Regions from separate parts of the Homo sapiens genome. Here region 1 is linked to region 2. Evidence: promoter capture Hi-C in 16 types of primary human blood cells and fetal thymus (Javierre and others, 2016). All regions are on one chromosome and are shown on one strand. Each heading gives the region's core, a stretch centred on a gene start or on the middle of the fragment in contact. The rest is flanking DNA. Distances are from core to core; before and after follow the strand shown. Region 1 has its middle 16 kb from the start of RUSC2. Region 2 holds the start of SPATA31G1 (SPATA31 subfamily G member 1).

Region 1 (6,043 bases), core at 2,263-4,762, 430 kb before region 2:
AGGCTCCTTGAGGCTTAGCCTGTTCCAAAAAGATGACTTTGGATGCTAAGAAAACTCCAAGATCCAGGAATTTGTTCCCACTACATATGTTTGGAAATTCTAAGTCTCAACATCAGTGAAAACAGCTTAAGGGAAAGTTTAACCCAGGTGTGGTGGCCACGCCTGTAATCCTAGCTACTTAGGAGGCTGAGGCATGACAATCACCTGAGCCTAGGAGGCGGAGGCTGCAGTGAGCTGAGATCGTGCCGCCGCACTCCAGCCTGGGGGATGCAGCCAGACTCCGCGGGGAAAAAAAAAAAAGACGAGCTGAGGGGAAAGAATCATATAAGGGGATAGTCAGATATTAAGAAAGAGAGAATACAGGATTGACTGAGGTTCCTGAAGAAGTAGGAAGGGATGGAAACTACAATATATAGATTAGTACTGAAGGAAAAAGTTATACTTCTTTTGAGACTGAAGGAAAGGAGGTAAAGGCGGGTTAAAATATATGTACAGAGGAGGATATTTAGCTGATAGTTTGGATTTTTCTCAGTAAAATAGAAGGCAGTATCATTTGCTACGTACTGGGGAGCCAGGAGAGTGTGGTAGAAGGTCTGAGAATGGTGATTGTTTAGAAAAGCTGATACGGAGAATAAAATATGAAGCCAATTACAAAATGGTGAAAAATTTGCCAAGTGGCACTGGGACAGAGGACAGTGGAGTCTCTGAATTTGTAATGGTTTTATGATCTCCAAAATAGTGCTTAACACTCTCAAATTAGAAACAGAGCAGGGTCGATGGTTTGGTTAATTCAAGGTTGAGATTTGTTCAGTGATTAAAGAGAAGAAAAGGAGAACTAGTAAGGTACTGAGGATGCTTATGATCCCAGGGTACAGACAGGCAAGCTAGGAAAGGAAGTAAAGTCATAAGGAATTGATAGACTGGAGAAAAAAGAAAGCCAAGGGTTTATAAATCTCCATGAGATAAAAAAGCAGGAATACTTTTAAAAATCTCAAGTACGAGCCATGTACTGAGAATATGGAGGAATAAGGTTTGTGATCAAAGATTGTGAAAAGAAAGTTTATAATTCCACATTAGTACAACTCTGGACAATTACATGGTAACATGGAAATGGGTGATACAGATTTTTTTTTTTTTTTGTCCAAGAGATCATCTGAAGGATTCTTTCAGAGACCTGAAAGAGTCTACAGTGATAGGTCGTCCATAAGGATGACAATACCACCCAAAACAATAGCAGTGGTTGGGAGGGGAGGGAGAAGTTTCAAAGCCCTCAATGAATGGGGTGTAGAAGCCAGAAGCTTCCTAGATATCAACAACAAGAAGAGTTACAGATGAGTATAGCCAGAAGTCATAAGCATCACAGGAAGAAAGATTGTGTAGGAGAGAAAAACTAATGGTTAAACATGGCACAGGATAATGAGGGCAACACCTTTGGGCTTATGGTATCCAGAGTTTATGGTATGCAGAGTATGAGAGAGATGGAAGAAAAAGGAATGTTCTCAGGGAAAATCATGTTTCAATTAATGAAGGGATTGAGGCTATAGGTAAGTTTGTTTATAAGAGAACAAAAATTCCAGTGATTTAGTGAAAAATGTGTTACGGTCAATCAGTAGTGGACAGAAGGAGAGGAAAGAAACTCCAGGAGGGATTTACTCCCTAGAAGCTATAATTTTGCCTATATTGCCAAGGTCATTAGCCAAGCCCCTGGAAGATGATTTAAGGCAAATCACTGAATTTCCTTCCCCTTCCCAATCTCTTTGGATGGACAGGGGTAAGGCAACAGTTGAGAACTGGAGTCAGATGTTTGGTACATAAGTCAAGTGGCTCAGTTTGGAATTGGGTCTAGCAAGACAGAGATAAGGTGAGGAATACCCTGAAGGCAGCAGAAGAACCCCTGTGAAGGGACACTTAAAAACAAATCCATAAACAAAAGCTGGGTCCAATACTAGAGAAAACAGTAAAAACCAACTAGAGATAAGAAGAATGAATAGGAAGATATTTTTATAATTTTATAAAGCCTGTTGAATATGTCACAAATCCTTAAGTTACAAAGGAAAATGACTGATAGATTTGATTACATGAATTAAACACTTCTACACAAAATATTATTTAACAAATTAAAAACCAAAAGACAAAATGGGAAAAATAATTATAACATATGCACCAGAAAAAGGAAGAGCTAGTATTTTTACTGTATAAAGAGCATTTTCAAATAAGAAAAAAAGGCCAAAGAATATGAATAGACAGTTCACAAAGTAAGTGTAAATGGGCAATAAAGAGATGATAAGGGGAAGAAAAATAAGCACATAAAAATGATTCAACCTAATTAGTCATCAAAAAAGGTAAATTAAATAATTAGATACCATTTTTCATCAATTAAATTTCAACAGATTAAAAATTGTTAATACCAGTTCTGACAAGCATATGGGGGAAAACAAAATGTCATATATTTTTGGTGGGATTATAAAGTTATGCGAATCTACCTGGAGGGCAATGTGGCACTATTTAATGTATTAAAACGTGGCTACCTTTTGACCAATGAATTTTACTTCTAGGACTTTATTCTAAAGAAATAATTATCAGAAAAGTAGACAAAATGTATGTTCCATAATGATTACCAAAATGTCATTTGTAATCGCAAAGGAAAATGGAATAAAAATAAGAAATTAAATAAATTAAGGTACAGTGATACAACTGAATAGTGGACACCCATTCAAAATGATGATGTAGACCTAGACCTACCGACATGGAAAGATGACGACAATAATAGTGTCAAGTGAACAAAAGGAAACTGGAAATAGCATGCATACTATGATTTTATCTCCCCCATCTTCTAGATCTAGATGTACATATGTGTGTGTGTATACACATATGAAAAGCATAGGATATACTCCCCAACTTTACACTGGCTATCTAAATGGGATGGAATAATTTTAACTTTCTTCACACATTTCTGTATTATTTAATTTTTTTTTTTACAGTGAGCATGGATTATTTTTTAAAGAGAAAAAGCCAATAAAGCTATTTTTGTTTAAAAAGAACAAACGAAGATCTTCAGAATTAAACATAGGTCATTTATATAATGCTTTCTGATATTACAGGACCAGTAAAAGCTTTAATATTTCAGTGGCTAAGGGAGTCTCGATTTGTATTAAGGATGCTTCTCTGAAGCACAGCCTCACTCAGCTCCCACATGCATTTCCCATGGAGCTGTAATCACTCACCTCAGAGACCGTCACCCTCTGTCCATCCTTGTCATAAGTATCACCTGTTGGTAAGTGAACACAGCAGAGACTTGGCAAGGGTTTTAAAGGAGGGTTTGAATTTCTTTAAATTGTTGTTAAAAAAATATACATATATATCACATAAAACTTGCCATTTTAACTATTTTAAATGTAAAATGCAATGACATTAATTATATTCACAATGTTGTGCAACAATCACCACTATATATTTCCAACATTTTTTCAGCACCCCAAACAGAAACTTCCCATTTTTTCCCATCACCAGCCCCTAGTAACCTCTAGTCTATTTTTTGTCTCTATGAATTTGCCTATTCTAGATAGTTCACATAAGTAGAATCATAAAATTTTTGTCTTTTTGTGTTTAGCTTACATCACTTAGCATAATGCTTTCAAGGTTCATCCATGTTGTAGCATGTATCAAATTTCATTACTTTTTATGGATGATTCACATTCCATTGTATGTATATGCTATACCACAGTTTCTTTATCCATTCATCTGTGGATGGACATGTGGGTTATTTCTATCTCTGGACTTATGCGAATAATGTCACAATGAACGTTGGTATACATGTATCCGAGTTCTTGTTTTCAAGTTTTGGGGGTATATACCTAGGAATCAAATTGCTGGGTCATATGGTGATTTAAAGGAGGGGCCTTAAAAGCTTATTTATTCTGATTCCTTCATCCTAGACTTGCAGTCAAGATGCCTGCCCCCCAGTCTCCTCAGGCCACCTAGCTCCCAGTTCCCAGTAAGCTCCTTTCCCTAAGCCAATGGTAAGAAGAGGTTTGCTTGGGCCTCAACTCTTCTCCCCTAAGTGAGAATAAGATGAAGCTAGAAGTTAGTCACTGGATCTGTGATAGACTTCACACCTCAGGAAGCCCTCCAATCATAAGAGTTACCCAGAAGAGATGTGGACACAGTTTTAGAATGTTTGGGATTCTTGACCAGTGGATGACAGACTGAATAGGGGTAGAAGACATGTCTGATGCCAAGCATGGAAACACTCATGGTCCTTTTCAACTTTACCCAGTATATGGTCAGGTCAGAGAATTAAGAGGCTCACCCAAATCAGCTCATCCAAAAATAAGCCTTCAGAGTTTATATAAGTGAAAATTTGTTTGACATGGTTACCAAACAAATAATAGGAAATATAGGAAATAATAGGAAATATTAGAGTGCTCTAGTCTTTTTTTTTTTTTTTTTTAGACAGGAGTTTCACTCTTGTCACCCAGGCTGGAGTGCAGTGGCATGATCTTGGCTCACTGCAACTTCCACCTCCCGGGTTTAAGAAATTCTCCCACCTCAGCCTCCCAAGTAGCTGGGATTACAGGCATGTGCCACCATGCCTGGCTAATATTTTTGTATTTTTTGTTGAGATGGGGTTTCACCATGTTGGCCAGGCTCGTCTCGAGCTTCTGACCTCAGGTGATCCGCCTGCCTCAGACTCCCAAAGTATTGAAATTACAGGCGTGAGCCAACGCACCCGGCCTAGCTTTTTTTAATTAAAAAATTTCAATTACTTATTGATATGAAATTTACTTAGTTAACATATAATTATCCATTTTAATGTGTACAATTTAGAGGCATTTAGTGCATTTACAATGTGCAACTACCACCTCTCTCAAGTTTCTAAACTTTTTCGTCACCCCAGAAAGATTATTCCATGTGTTCTAGTTTTTTAGATGTGATTACCTTCCTCTGTTAGCTAGGACACTGGGTATGACTGTTCACACACATGAGGACTTAACTCTATCACAAAAACAAGCTTATGCTTAAGGCATAAGATAAATAAGGGATTGGGCCTGGGAGACACTGATCAAACTCTGACTACCCTTTGATGGTTTCTCTCAATAATATTTATTGCTGTAAAGGGGAATCAAGAAATTAGCAGCTTCAGTAATACATTGACTGCTCCATTTAATTTATTTTTAATTTTATTATTAATTGACAAATACTAATTGTATATATTTATGGATACAATGTGATGTTTTCATATATGTATACACCATGGAATGATTATATCAAGCTAACTAACATATTTATCACCTTGCATACTTATTTTTTTGTAGTGAGAACATTTAAAACTCTTTTAGTAATTTTGAAATATGCAATACATTATTATTAACTAGGATCAACATGCTGTGCAATGGATCTTGAAGACTTATTCCTCCTGCCTAACTGAAACTTTGTACCCTTTGACCAACATCCATCTGATTTAAAGTGGGAGTGAACTGAGTACATAGACATTGGGGACTCCTTGAGGACAGAGACTAAGTCTTGCACATCTCGGTATTCTCAATGCCCAACACAATAGATTGTACCTATAAGATGCTAAATAAATGCTTTTTGGTTAGAACTGTTTGGGCTGGGTGGTCTTTGCTTAGAGAATAGAGACAGTTGTGAGAATAGGAGATAAATGTGAATTCCAGAGGCTTACAGATTTAGAGCTAGATTAGTCTTGAAAACAATTTGCAAAGTAAAAATTTCCCAGGACTTGGGGAAAGCAGGAAGACATGCATATCATAGAGCTTCCCATTAATAGAACATTTGTTGAAAATCATAATGTTCTGAGTCAGAGTCCCTGTTTTGTCAGAGAACACATATTTGACTTGGCCGAGCTCCTCAGTAAGGGTGGTAGTACGAGCCTGTGCTGGTGTGTTCCTTGGTGCATAAAACATCTTCCGATCCCAGTTGATATATAAACTGTTGCCCAATCTTATTATTTCAACACTAAGGAGAAAGCAGAAAAAGAATGGTTCTGCGTCAGAACAGGACAAGCAAATATATCATCCTGGTT
Region 2 (5,806 bases), core at 3,038-5,537:
AATACAATGTCCAACAAATAGTGCATTAGAAAATGGGTAGAGGATATGACCCGGTGATTATAGAAATCCAGACGGTTACTAGACGTATTAAAAGACACTTGTTTTCATGGCCTTGGAGATGGATGAGCTGACCCAGGGAGAGAAAAGAGCAGAGGGCTGAGAAGAAATGGTCAGAAAGATACGTGGAGAACTTACAGGTCAAGTGGATGAAGAAGAGAACAATACCCAGGACAAAGCACAGTTGCCTAGACTCAGATGACCTGTGCTCGTGTGAATGGATGTAGTTTTTTGTTCACATGCTGTGAAGTCGTTCCCTCTCAAGGGCGGCTTTGGGCTATGCTGACCTGGCCCTGTAGCCTCACCCTATAGAGTAGGGATGTGTGGACTCCAGATGTGATCATCTGTGAAGATCCACAAAAGAGTTAAGCCTGCAGAATCCTGAGTGCTCTACTGGGACTTGAAACTGAGGGGCTATGGCTGTAGCAGAATTGGGAATTGACATTTTCAGTACCCTAGATTCCAAAGAAGACATGAATGGGATTTATCTAATTCAGCTAGTTTATTAGAATTTCCATTTCTTGTCTCCACATCCCCACCTTCCCCCTGGTTTGGCTTCAGGTCTTGGCATACCAAGTGCTAGTATTACCAGCCTTTTCTCTACTGACTAGATTTGGTGGGTAGGGGTCGATGGTTATCCAGGCATTTGGCTAACACCTTTTGCAAACCCCTGGTAAGGGAAGCCTTGAGGGTAGGGAAGGAGAGATACTTCTCCATGTGGGCCCAAGGACAGTGCTTACAGTGGCGAGGGGTCAGGATGTCACTTGCTCTTCGCCCTGCCTCTGGCTGATCCTGGGGACCCGAAGCTTTGGGGAGAAGCAGCTGGGGAAGAGCAGTGTGTTGAGAGCTCTGGCCCCTGTGTTGAGACCTTTGGGGAAATGTGCTTACAGGGGCCTCTACTAGGCTTCTGGCCTGGGCAGGGTGGTTCTTCCCTGTGACTGTGGATAACCCCAACCTTGCAGTCCCTCTTCTATGGTCTCCTGCTTTGGGTTTCCTAGGGTGCTCTCTCTTTTTGGCTGAGGATGAGGCTGAAGCCTTGTCCTTTCTCTTGCCTGAGACCAGAACCTTAGAGTTTGAGGGTTCTCCTGGGCCTGGAGATAGATAGTCCACACCAGCCTCCATGTGTACACATGGCCCTTGGGATGGGACCTGGCTCACCATCTTCCCCTTCATTTTCTCCCCTCTCTGAGACCCTTGTTCCGCCCTGCCAGACTCCTGTGGCTGAAGCTGGGAAGAGGATTGGAAGTGATGACAGTGGGAGGACTGGACAGGCTGAGGTACTGTGCGCTGAACTTCTTGAGGATGACAACTTGAAGAGTGGGGGCATGGATTGGGGGGATAAATCTGCTGTGGTGGGCAGGAAGGGAGTCCCCAGAAGTCTGGAATTGTGGAGCTCAGAATAGGGGAGCTGCAAAATGATTGACTTGGGCCAGGGGCTCTGGAGGCAGGGCTCTGCCGCAGTTTCTTCAGCCTGAGTTTCAGCTCTCTACTCCACTGCCAGGCATGGATCCCAGGATGGGTGAGCAACTCTGGGACAGTCCATCTCTGGGAGAGTGGGGCCTCTGCCTTAACCCCTGGGCACGTTACTCCCTTGGGTAGACCAGGATGAGTGCGTTCAATCTTCACAGCTTCAGCTAGGGTGGGAGGCTGGGGTACTGGGTGTAGGGGATCCACTGCCAGAGGGCTGGGGCCTTGGGGAACTTCTCTTTGTTGCACATTTCTCCACACAAGTTCAAGGTCAATGTGTGGCTCTGGTAGAGGAGTAGAGAGTGAGCTGGGGGCTGGGAGCTCAGTGGCCCAGTGGTTCTTTCTTTGCTCCACTGCCTCCCCGTCAGGCTTATAGTTGCTTTGGTCTGCGATAGGCTCACTTACGTGGGACTTTGAAACAGAGTTTGAGGATGGGCTGGAGCCCCTACCTGGGAACACAGGAACACAGTTTTCTTTTTGCTCCATTTCCCCTACAATAGACTGAGAATCAGACAAGACTCCCAGAGGGCTGGCTCCATGCAGGTCTTGGGGTAAGTTACAAGCTGGGTGCTTAGAGGCCCAGGAGTTTTTTGTCTTTTGTATGTCCCCACATCTAGCTTCAGAATCAGACAGGACCCCCATGGATCTAACTCTGAGCAGCTCCGGTGCAAGAGCTGGGGGTGGGCTGAGGGCCAGAGATGGAGACCTAGAAGCCGAGGAATTCCTGGAATGCTCAGTATCCTTCCATGTAGCTTCTGATGTAGCGAGGCATTCCCCAGGATTGATTCTGTGTGGTTCCATAAGGGTGGTTGGAGGTGTGCTATGAACAGGGTCTGGGGAATCAGATGCCCAGAGGTTCTCTTTCTGCCCCATGGTCTCCCACAAAGCTTTGGATTCAGACAGGACTCCCTGGGGGCCCATTACTAGAGACTCCAGGAGAGGGACTGAGGGAAGGCTGGGAGGTGAAACTGGGTCTGCAGGGACCCAAATATTTTCTCTACTTTGCATGCCCTTCCATGGTGTCTCAGATGCTGGTGGGACACATTCAGGGCTGGTTCCAGAGAGCTCTGGGTTGAGGTCCAAGACTGGAGACTCAAAAGCCCAGAGGTTTCCTGAGTTTTCTCTGCATTCCCACTGGGGCTTATATCTGGATGGATCTTCCAGGGAACTCTCTCTCTGGAGTTCTGGCAGGGAGTCTAGGGGAGGGCAAGGGACTGGCATTGAAGACTCAGAGGCCTGAGGTTTCTCTCTGTATCCCACGGTTCCCCAGAAGTCCTTAGATATAGCAAGTCCTCCTTCAGGGCTAACTTTTCTGGGTTCTGACAGAGAAGCTGGGGATTGGCAGGGGGGTGGCATCGGAGGCTCAAAAGCTTGGGGCATCTTTTTGTGTCCTGTGGTTTCCAAATGAGTCTCATATCCAGGGAGAACTTCCAGGGGGCTAGTTCCAGGGGACTGTGTGGGTGCCTCAGCGCCAGATAAAACTCCCTTGTGGTCCACAGGGAAGGGCCTCAGATGGAGGAGTAGTGATGAGACAGAAGGAGAAGATGGAGGTGGAAGCAGCTGAGGATCGGGGGCCATCCCTTCTAGATCTTCCATAGTATGGGCCCCATGGGTAGAAAACTGGGCTGAGGAGTGATACTGGGGAAGCAACAGGTTGGACCTAGGTAGGAAGGCAAGCTTGTTGAAGAAGACAGAAGAACAAACAGACCACTTCAGAGGAGAGGGGCCACCTGAGCTCAGGAAGATGGCCTCCAAGGACTCGCTGTGCAGAGAGGGGAGACCCCAGAAGAGCTGGCTTTTTCTCTGCTGCTGGCGGTTCCCTGATGCTATCTTGTGCCTCACAGGAAAGCTGGTCAGAATCTGGAAGATGGGGAAGGATCTGGAAGGGCTCACGGGCTGCATGACTGTTTGCTCTGGTATCCCTATAGCCTTGAGGAGGCCCTCAGAACCACAGGATGGCTGGGGTGGGGCTGGAGTGGCTTGCTCTCCAGTGGGAGCTTCTTTGGTAGGAGAACATGGCTTCAGTGGATCCAGAGATGCCTCGTCTTCCCCCTCTTCCTCTTCTTCCCCTTCTTCCTCCACTTCTGATTTCTGCTTACACAGGTGATCAAGGAAGGCCACACGGTGCAGAAGTGGTAGTTCCTGGGAAGTAGATAAAGATATTCTCAGGCATGAAGCCTTTTCAGATACACAAGGTTTGCTATGAGGCACTCAGTCTGCTCCATATCCAGAGTGGACAGTTACTCACCTAATCCCACGTGTGTGGCCAGTCACCTACACAGCTCCTCATCTAGTGTTAATGGTCATTACCCAGTCCTCATTTGGAGATCAGTATTCCCTCATTCTACATCTAGAATCCATGGTCACTCACCTGGCTTCAAATCTAGTGTCAGTGGTTACTCACCCAGCCTCACATCTAGGGCTTATAGTCACTCACCTGGGCCCACATTCATACCAATGACCTCACATGTGGTGTCAGCAGTCATTCATCCAGCTGTACAGTCACAGGTCACCCACCTTGCCTTGCACCATATTCCCAGAGCACCAGGGATGAAGCTGTCGCAACCTCCCAAGCTGCCACCATCTCTGAATCTGCCAAACCACGAATAAGAATAGTGTCACCAGATTTCCTGGACTCTGGAAGCAGCTGCTGCCGCAGTGTCTGCAGGCTAGGGCATGGGTCAGTTGGCCCCAGAGAAGCCCCATATCCCCCTTAGCCCCAAGCAGGTCCTCCAGCAGCCATTCCATTTCCCTTAGCCTTCTGGCAGTTTACCCTGAGGTCATCATTGCATCACAGAACAAAGAACTCCCATCCCCCACAGAGGCCTGGGCTTAACAGCCTTCTCCCTGAATTTAGAACCAAAAAAAATTTCCTCTATCAGGCAATTCATGCTTCACACAGTGAAATGTGGGTGATCCCCTTTTGATTGCCCAGTTCAGAATTATGCTTCAGGCATTGTGGTTAAGTACATGGATTCTAGCACCGAACTGCCTTATTCAAATCATAGCTCTGTCATTTTCCTACCTGTGAAAACTCAAACTACTTAATTTTTTCAGTGCCTCATTTTTCTTATCTATAAAATAAAGATATCATTATCTTTATTTTATAGATATTTATTGTTATTATTTTGAGACAGAATCTCACTGTGTCACCCAGGCTGGAGTGCAGTGGTGTGATCACGACTCACTGCAGCCTCAACCTCCTGGGCTGAAGTGCTCCTCCTGCCTCAGCCTCCTGAGTAGCTGGGACCACAGGCATGTGCCACCGTGCCCAGCTAATTTTTATATTTTTTATTTTTGTAGAGACAGGATCTCTCTATATTGCCCAGGCTGGTCTCGACTCCTGAGCTCTAGGGATCCTCCCGCCTTGGCCTCCCAAAGTGGTGGGATTATAGGCGTGAACCATCTTGCCTGGCATATTATTCTTAGAGGCAAGGTCTCATTGTATTGCCCCGGCTGGTCTTGACCTCCTGAGCTCAAGAGAGCCTTCCATCTCAGCCTCTGAGTAGCTGGGATTACAGGCATGGGCCACTCTACCCAGCACAATAATATTATTACTTACTACACAGGGTTGTTTTGAGGATGTAAAAAGTAAAGTAGAGGTTCCTCTTCAAAGACTTTCCTCTCCATCTTATTAGGAATAAATAGTAACATCTCTTAGAAGCAAAATTTATTCAAAGACCTCTGTTAACATTCTTAAATATCTGCTAGCCGTAATAAATCAATTTACTTTATGTTCTTAGCTTCCACAATTTAGCCTAAATATTTGCCCTGGCATGCTTATATTGGTCCAAGCAAGCATTAGGTCATAGCCTGTTCCTCTTCCTTATTTGAAGGTGTTTTTACCTTTCTCAGCATTCCACAAGTTAACTTCCTCCTTCCTTTGTTCTCTGCCTTTGCCTCTTTTTAAAAAGTTCTAAGTTGTTAGCCAATCAGGACAAATACAGAAAGCGAGGTCCTGTTCCAGCCAATGGAAACCGGACACAGCAGTAGGGTGGATGCGTCAGGCTATAAATGACCCTGCCTCCTTTGTTCGGTGTACTCTTCATGGCAAAACTGCTGGTGAGTGTACCGTTTCTGCAGAAAGTAAAAATAGCCTTGCTGAGGAAATTAAATTTATGTTCAAGTGCTATTTCTTCACGGCACTGGGGAACAAGCATTTCTAACAAGGATTAAATGAATAAATATATATGCTTAGAATAATATAATGTATGCTGTATTAAATTTCTATTTAAGGTTTCTAATTATAAGCTTCATTCTGTCTTTAATGGTTGGGGTCTAT

Evidence for each region. Contacts are between HindIII fragments. The CHiCAGO score rates a contact against its expected background, and 5 or more counts as called.
Region 1: a fragment that was not itself captured here is called in contact with the fragment with the promoter of SPATA31G1 in region 2 in 1 of 17 cell types (M0 macrophages); the score reaches 5.9 in M0 macrophages.

What each region holds. Positions count from the first base shown.
Region 1 is chr9:35,470,953-35,476,995 of GRCh38, reverse strand. It overlaps the pseudogene ATP8B5P. Among named protein-coding and RNA genes, the nearest start is that of RUSC2, 16 kb to the left of the region's middle. The HindIII fragment of the contact is 794 bases long and covers 3,116-3,909 here.
Region 2 is chr9:35,040,721-35,046,526 of GRCh38, reverse strand. SPATA31G1 (SPATA31 subfamily G member 1) reads right to left here and starts at 4,287. Exons shown (of 2, transcript NM_203299.4): 1 at 4,042-4,287; 2 at 541-3,666. The coding sequence starts at 4,272. The coding sequence ends at 658. The HindIII fragment of the contact is 2,574 bases long and covers 3,204-5,777 here.